Linked DNA regions of Homo sapiens: region 1 is linked to region 2. Evidence: promoter capture Hi-C in human tissues and cell types (Jung and others, 2019). All regions are on one chromosome and are shown on one strand. The core of a region is centred on a gene start or on the middle of the fragment in contact, and the rest is flanking DNA. Distances in the headings are between cores, read along the strand shown. Region 1 has its middle 21 kb from the start of CEP19. Region 2 holds the start of SENP5 (SUMO specific peptidase 5).

Region 1 (3,721 bases), core at 247-2,746, 180 kb after region 2:
CCATTCCCTCCCGCAAAACCAAAAAAGGAAGTCAAGGCCGGGCGTGGTGGCTCACGCCTGTAATTCCAGCACTTTGGGAGGCCGAGGCCAGCGGCTCACGAGGTCAGGAGATGGAGACCATCCTGGCTAACACGGTGAAACCCCGTCTCTACTAAAAATACAAAAAATTAACTGGGCATGGTGGAAGTCAAGGAAGAAAAAATATTTCATCCTGATAAAGCCACTGTATCCAAATATCAGGGTCTTACATCCAAGACAACTGCATGAGCAAGCACATTTTATAGCATTATATGCTCAATAAGCTTTATTTTTAAAATCCAGCTTTAACTGTTTTTCATTTTCTTGGTCCATTCCTATGCCTGGCCCCACTTTCTTCAAAAGGTGGATGAGGTGTCACCCTAGGGAGAAGGAACCAGGAGTGAGTTTTTCTTCTGCTCTCGCTCCCGTGGTTCAAGCCTTTCATCCGGTGCTGAGCCTAACTCTTCCCTTAGGACTGCTGGGTGGGGCTTAAATGGCTGTGTGTGTAGAACATCTCCCTGCTCAGTCATCAGCCGAAAAGACCCTCAGAAATCAGGATACATTCATCTTTGTTCCTTTCCCCAGTTTTCTCATTTGTAAAATGGGACGTTAATACCTGTTTCCACTGGGCCAGCGTAAGGAGGAAGTTAGATACCATATGCATAGTACAGCATCTGTCATGGAGTAAGTGTTCAATATGTGAAAGTTTTTTTAAAAAGTCTTTTGCCAGCCGGGCGTGGTGGCTCATGCCTATAATCCCAGCACTATGGGAGGCCGAGGTGGGTGGATCACTAGGTCAGGAGATGGAGACCATCCTGGCCAACATGGTGGAACCCCGTCTCTACTAAAAATACAAAATTAGCCAGGCGTGGTGGTGCACGCCTGCAATCCTGGATACTCGGGAGGCTGAGGCAGGAGAATTGCTTGAACCCAGGAGGCGGAGGTTGCAGTGAGCTGAGACTGCACCACTGCACTCCAGCCTGGGCAACAAGAGCAAAACTCCATCTCAAAAAAAAAAAAAGAAAAGGAAAAGATCTGTATTTTATAATATTTTGAGTGACTGGACTAACACCTACAGGACAAGATATTATGGAGACACAAGTAAAGTCCATGACTTGCATTAAGAAATGCCAACTGCAAGAGCACAGGACAGGAAACAGTTAACCTAAAAACAACGTGAAACAGACAGAGGGCATCCAATTGGCAGCAGTCGCAGTATGAACACTCTGTGGACTGGCTGCCCAGAAAGCTAATGTAAGCCTACGCTACATTAATTGAGGGTTAGTGCTCAGATGGGGGAAAGGTCCTGATCAGATCCTGTCTGGAGCCATGTTTTCTTCCAGGAGCCTCATTTTAAAAGATGTTGACAAACTGGAGTGTGTCCCACAGAGAGTGACCATGTCACATGAGAATCCTTTGCAAGAAGTGATGAGATTTTTGCCTGGAAAAGGCAAAAGTTAAAAGATTGCTCTTAAAGCTCTTTAGTTCTTTACAGATCTTTCACGTAGAAGAATATATTACTACTTCTAGAGGGAAAAACTAGGCACAGTGATTGGAAATTTAGGGAGCAGCTCTCACCTCAAGAAAAGACAGAACTTTCTGGCCAGGCGCGGTGGCTCACGCCTGTAATCTCAGCACTTTGGGAGGCCAAGGAGGGTGGATCACTTGAGGTCAGGAGTTCGAGACTAGCCTGGCCAACATGGTGAAACCCCGTCTCTACTAAAAATCCAAAAATTAGCTGGGCGTGGTTGTGTGCACCTGTAATTCCAGTTACTCGGGAGGCTGAGGCAGGAGAATCACTTGAACCCAGGAGACAGAGGTTGCAGCAAGCCCAGATCACGCCATTGCACACTCTAGCCTGGGGGAAAAGCATAAAACTCCGCCTCAGAAAAAAAAAAAAAAAGAAGAAGAAGAAAAAAGAAAAGACAGAACTCTCTGAAGATCAAAACCGCCAGCAACGGGAAGGGTGACTTTGTGAAGCAGTGACCCCGCTGTCCCTACAGCAGCCCAGCAAGGCACCAGAGAGGTTAACCATTGGCGTTTTTCAAGCTGCCTTCTGTGGAGCAGCATCCTGGGGAGCTAGGGTTGGGGTCGGGTGTAAAAGTGGTCATTGTTCTGAGTGATAAAAAGAATAAGGAGGTGGGAACTGGACTCCTAATTTATCCACAGCAGCTCAATTCTTACATGTTGAAGTTTTTCCCATTTCAGAGTTCTACTTGAGATCTTCATTAAGGGTTCTGCTATGAAAATCAAACCTGCAAACCACCAGAGATGATGGCTTTCTTCGCTATCTCTTTTCTTTTTTGAGATGGAGTCTCGCTCTGTCACCCAGGCTGGAGTGCAATGGCGTGATCTTGGCTTACTGCATCCTCTGCCTCCCGGGTTCAAGCGATTCTCCTGCCTCAGCCTCCCGAGTAGCTGGGATTACAGGTGTGCGCCACCAAGTCTGGCTAATTTTTGTATTTTTAGAAGAGACAGAGTCTCACCACCTTGGCCAGGCTGGTCTTGAACTCCTGACCTCAGGTGATCTGCCCACCTCGGCCTCCCGAAGTGCTGGGATTACAGGTGTGAGCCACCGTGCCCGGCCTCTCCACCGTCTCTGGTGGACACAACACCCCGTCTCTTAGGTGCCTGATTCTCAGACAGGACTCAGGAGCAGAGACCAGATAAATCTCAGATTTGTCTGAGCTTATTTACTTCTGGAGTTTTCTAAATAGCTCTCTCTCTTCCCTGGGGTGGGTTGCTTTTTTTTTTTTTAAGGCAGTTTTTTCAATCTTTTGGGTAGTAGCTCTTGAGTCTGTAAAGCCTGGTAATTTTCTAGAGGTAATTGGCATTAACCATCAAGACTCTCCTCACATGCTCCCTTCCCACTCTGGCACCCTCCTCCCACAGGCCTTCCTCCCGTCCTGCTGCCTCCATCAGTCTCTTCCTCTGGCAGCCAAGGGTTGCCTCTCCAAGTGGTCCCAGGAGAGAAATCCTAGGGCCACGTATCAGTCAGAACACTAGTCCTGGACACCTGTGTTTCTCCTGCCCGCAGGCAGACCCTTCGGGAGACACTTGACCAGCGCAGGCCCTTGGGGGGCAGCTCGCCAGGTAGGACCCCTCCCTGCCAGCTGGGGTTTCCCAGCTCCCCACGCTTGAGTTCTCCTACCTAGAATCTTCTTAGGACTACTTTTAACAGCTGCAGTCCTCTCTGCTTGCTTTACGCCTCCCGAGACTCGTTGTTGCAAAAGTCTTTCTGTGCTAGAGACCCAAACTTTGAATCTCTACTCAAGCTAGTGGTTCTTAGACTTCAGCATGCACCAGACTCATCTGTGGGACTCACGATAGCGCAGATTGCTGCGTTCCACCCCCAGAATTTCTGATTCAGTAAGTCTGGGGTGGAGCCTAAGAATTTGCATTTATTTTCCTTTTTCTTTTTTTAATTTGTTTGAGATAGAGTCTCGCTCTTGTCACCCAGCCTGGAGTGCAGTGGCGCAATCTCAGCTCACTGCAACTCCCACCTCCCAGGTTTAAGCAATTATCCTGTCTCAGCCTCCTGAGTAGCTGGGATTACAGACGTGTGCCACCACGCCTGGCTAATTTTTATATTTTTAGTAGGGACAGGGTTTTGCCGTGTTGGCCAGGCTGGTCTTGAACTCCTGACCTCAGGTGATCCGCCTGCCTTGGCCTCCCAAAGTGCTGGGATTACAGGTGTGAGCCA
Region 2 (3,631 bases), core at 196-2,695:
GGGCGCGATGGCGGGCACCTGTAATCCCAGCTACTCTGGAGGCTGAGGCAGGAGAATCGCTTGAACCTGGGAGGAGGAGGTTGCAGTGAGCTGAAAAGATCGCGCCACTGCACTCCAGGCTGGGTGTCAGAGTGAGACCCTGTCCCCCCTCCAAAAAAAAATTGTGAGCCCAGGTGTAAATGAAGCCCCCCTCCCCAGCACCCTCCTCTACATACCAAGCTTTTCTCCTAGAAAAGATGCACTGGGAAAAAGCTATCTTGAGTAAAGATCAAAACTGATATAAGCCATCCCTCATATACCAATAATATGCCATCAATAAGCGTGAGACATGTGGATGGCTAGGAGAGAGTCTGGTTTCTTCCTGATGCTGCCCACCCAAAACAGAGACTGCAGTTAGGCTCTGACCACACGAGCGCCTGGCATCTCTAGGCAACCTTTTCCATACCAAGCTTAGTTATTCCGGGCAAAATGCAAAAAAAAAACATAAGTAGGAACCTATCATGAAGTGTCCTGGATATTCTTAAATTAAATTTAACCAGATTCTCAAAACATTTCATAACTAACGTCTGCTTTCTTCATTTAATTCTCCAAACATTATAATTTACATTGGTAGAAGAAAGTCCCACTTTACCTGCGGTGAAAAAGGTCGAAATGTCTATCTAGCATGAGATGAAAAACACTACCAGAGAGCAGGGTAGGATTTCACCTCGGCTATTCTCGCTCTAAGTCCAAAACTCCCACATCCTCTCCGCATCCCTCCACCCCGACAGAGTGGCCACAGGGCGTAGAGCGGAGGCTGATACCGCTCAGAGCAGACCGAAGGGAAAAGACGTCTCCCACCGCGCTCATGCCCAACCGGGCTCTCTGGAAAAGGGTCCCGGGGAGCGCGAGGAAAGAAACGAAGGCCGGAAGGAGGCAGAGCGGTCTAAGCAAATAAAAACCCCGGACTTCCACGGCGGCCGGAGCTGGAGGCCTGTGACAGCGGCTCCTCCTCTCAGAGCTTTCCCGGCTTCAGGAGGAGCTGGGGGGCGCCAGCTTCCCGGTGCCTGCGACGCACAGCCCGGCTGGAGCGAGAGCGCAGGGCAGCGGCCCCTCGGGACGAGCTCGCTCGCCTCCCCCGGAAAGGGAGGCTGTGGCCGAGACGGACGGCGGCCTCCAGCTCGGGCGGGGGAGGGCGGCTCGAGGCCTCCGGACCGGGCGCTGAGGTGGCGCACCGGCGCGGGAATGGCCCCAGCCAGCCCCGCCAGGCGATCGCTGAGTCCGTCACTCGTCTGCCCGCGTCCCCGCTTACCTGCTACCCTCGTTCCTGGCAGCTGCCCCGCCGCCGGCCCCGTCGCGGCAGCAGCCTGGACCGCGGACCCCGCCTTCGTCAGCTCCAAGGGAAGCCCCGCCAGCGACGAGGCGTCCGGCCTGTTCGCCGCGGCCACAGCCGCCGAGCTTCCTCTGAAGCGGCTGCCGCGACGCCGGCGCTGGCCTATCGCGTCACCTCCTCCGCGCCCTTCCGCCTGCGAGGCTGGGCCTGGCACCGCCCGCTTCCGGCGCTCCCGCCCCGCCTCCCGACCCGGGGCCGCCCCGCCCCCGCCCGTCACCGCGTCCTTAGCCCCGGCCTCCCTCAGAACGCGCTGGGATGGGAACCGCGTTCAGGAGCTGCTAAGCGCGTTTGAGACTTCAGCCCCTTCTCCAGCTTTTAACCTAAAAGGGCTAAATCAGACCGCAGCTAGTGTACACCCCTACCCTCCGCTGATCCCGTCACCCCTGCGCCGAAAGCAAAAGACCCATTCCAGCTCTGGACGTTGTGAGGCCTGGCCCAGGCGTCCGCTCTCTGGTTTTCCTATTGATCTTACCCCTGGTATTGTGATTGGCCTCTTTATCTATGTCTTACCCGCCCCAACTGTGAATGCTTTCCAAAATTATAAGCCGATGTCCTGACAGGCAAAAACATAATAATAGCAGATTTATGGCGGAAGATGAGTTCAGTTTTGAACATACTCGATCTGGAAGAATAAAGTGGAGGTGACTGCAATGGAAAACCAACAGTGCGTTGCTGAGAGCCTGTGTAGGCAGTAAGGATATGCATTGATGGTGGAGAAGATAAAAACAATACCGAAGCCAACTGCAGGATGGTTTGCTTTTAATTATCATCATGTGTCAGAAAATTCTAAACAATGTTAATGAAAAAGTACTCCTTTCCAAACAAAAGCTTTGTTTAGTCTTAGTTCTAAGCAATGGCTGCAATTACTGTTGATTTTTTTTTCTTTTTTCTTTTCTTTTTTTTTTTTTTCCAAACAGGGTCTTGCTGTCTCGCCCAAGCCGGAGTGCCGTGGCACACCCTAGGCTCGCTGTAACCTCTGCCTCCTGGGCTCAAGCGATCCTCCCACCTCATCTTCCAGGGTACCTGCGACCACAGGCTCCTGCACCACGCCCGGCTAATTTTTTATTACTATTACTATCATTATTTTTGTAGCGATGACATCTCCCTATGTTGCCCAGGCTGGTCTTGAACCCCTGAGCTCAAGTGATCCTCCCACCTGGGCCTCCCACAGTGCTCGAATTACAGGCGTGAACCACCACACCAGGCCCTCTCACTTCTTTTTAACAGTTTCTCTTTGTCAGTGATTTTTTTTTTTTTTTTAGAGGAGTGTCGCTCTGTCGCCCAGGCTGCAGTGCAGTGGCGCCATCTCGGCTCACTGCAAGCTCTGCCTCCCGGGTTCACGCCATTCTCCTGCCTCAGCCTCCTGAGTAGCTGGGACTACAGGCGTCCACCACCACGCTTGGCTAATTTTTTTTGTATTTCTTTAGTAGAGACCGGGTTTCACCAAGTTAGCCAGGATAATCTCGATCTCCTGACCTCGTGATCTGCCCGCCTCAGCCCCCCAAAGTGCTGGGATTACAGGCGTGAGCCACCGCACCCAGCCTGTTAGTGATTTTTAGCCATTTATTTTGTGCCCTATCTTTGTTTTCTTTGTATTTATCTGTCTTGGATATCATTGAGTTTCTCTGATTTGTGGGTAGATGTCTTGCATCAGTTTTGAGAAATTCTCAATCATTATCTCTTCAGATATGGTTTTTGCTGCATTCTCTATGCCTGTTCTCCGAGACACCAATTACATATGTAAGATTATTATTATTATTATTGAGACAGAGTTTCACTCTTTTTGCTCAAGCTGGAGTGCAGTGGCGCAATCTCGTCTCACTGCAACCTCTGCCTCTGCCTCCCGGGTTCAAGCGATAATCCTGCCTCAGCAGTATTATCTACTGAGGTAGATAATACTATTATAATAGTATTATTATCGAGTAGCCAGAATTACAAGCGCCCACCACCACGCCCGGCTAATTTTTGTATTTTTAGTAGAGATAGGGTTTCACCATGTTGGTCAGGCCGGTCTTCAACTCCTGACCTCCGGTGATCCACCTGCCTCAGCCTCCCAAAGTGCTGGGATTACAGGCATGAGCCACGGCACCCAGCCCATATGTAAGATTATTTGATCTTGTTCACCGTGTCTTTTACACTTTGTGATGTCAATTTTTTTTTCAATTATTCAGTTTGAAGGTTTTCTGTTTTTCAGGTTATTGAGTCTATCTTCTATAATCTCCAATCTGCTGTTAAATCTATACATTGAGTTCTTAATTT

Evidence for each region. The method cuts DNA at HindIII sites, captures the fragments that hold promoters and counts their contacts. A contact is called where the count stands out against the background at its distance.
Region 1: a fragment that was not itself captured here is called in contact with the fragment with the promoter of SENP5 in region 2 in 1 of the 25 tissues and cell types used here (hippocampus).

What each region holds. Positions count from the first base shown.
Region 1 is chr3:196,689,828-196,693,548 of GRCh38, reverse strand. No RefSeq gene overlaps it. Among named protein-coding and RNA genes, the nearest start is that of CEP19, 21 kb to the left of the region's middle. The HindIII fragment of the contact is 6,798 bases long and covers 1-3,721 here.
Region 2 is chr3:196,865,734-196,869,364 of GRCh38, reverse strand. It overlaps SENP5 (SUMO specific peptidase 5), which reads right to left and starts at 1,445. Exons shown (of 10, transcript NM_152699.5): 1 at 1,292-1,445. RefSeq lists an enhancer at 1-437 and a silencer at 1,089-1,668. The HindIII fragment of the contact is 4,194 bases long and covers 1-2,950 here.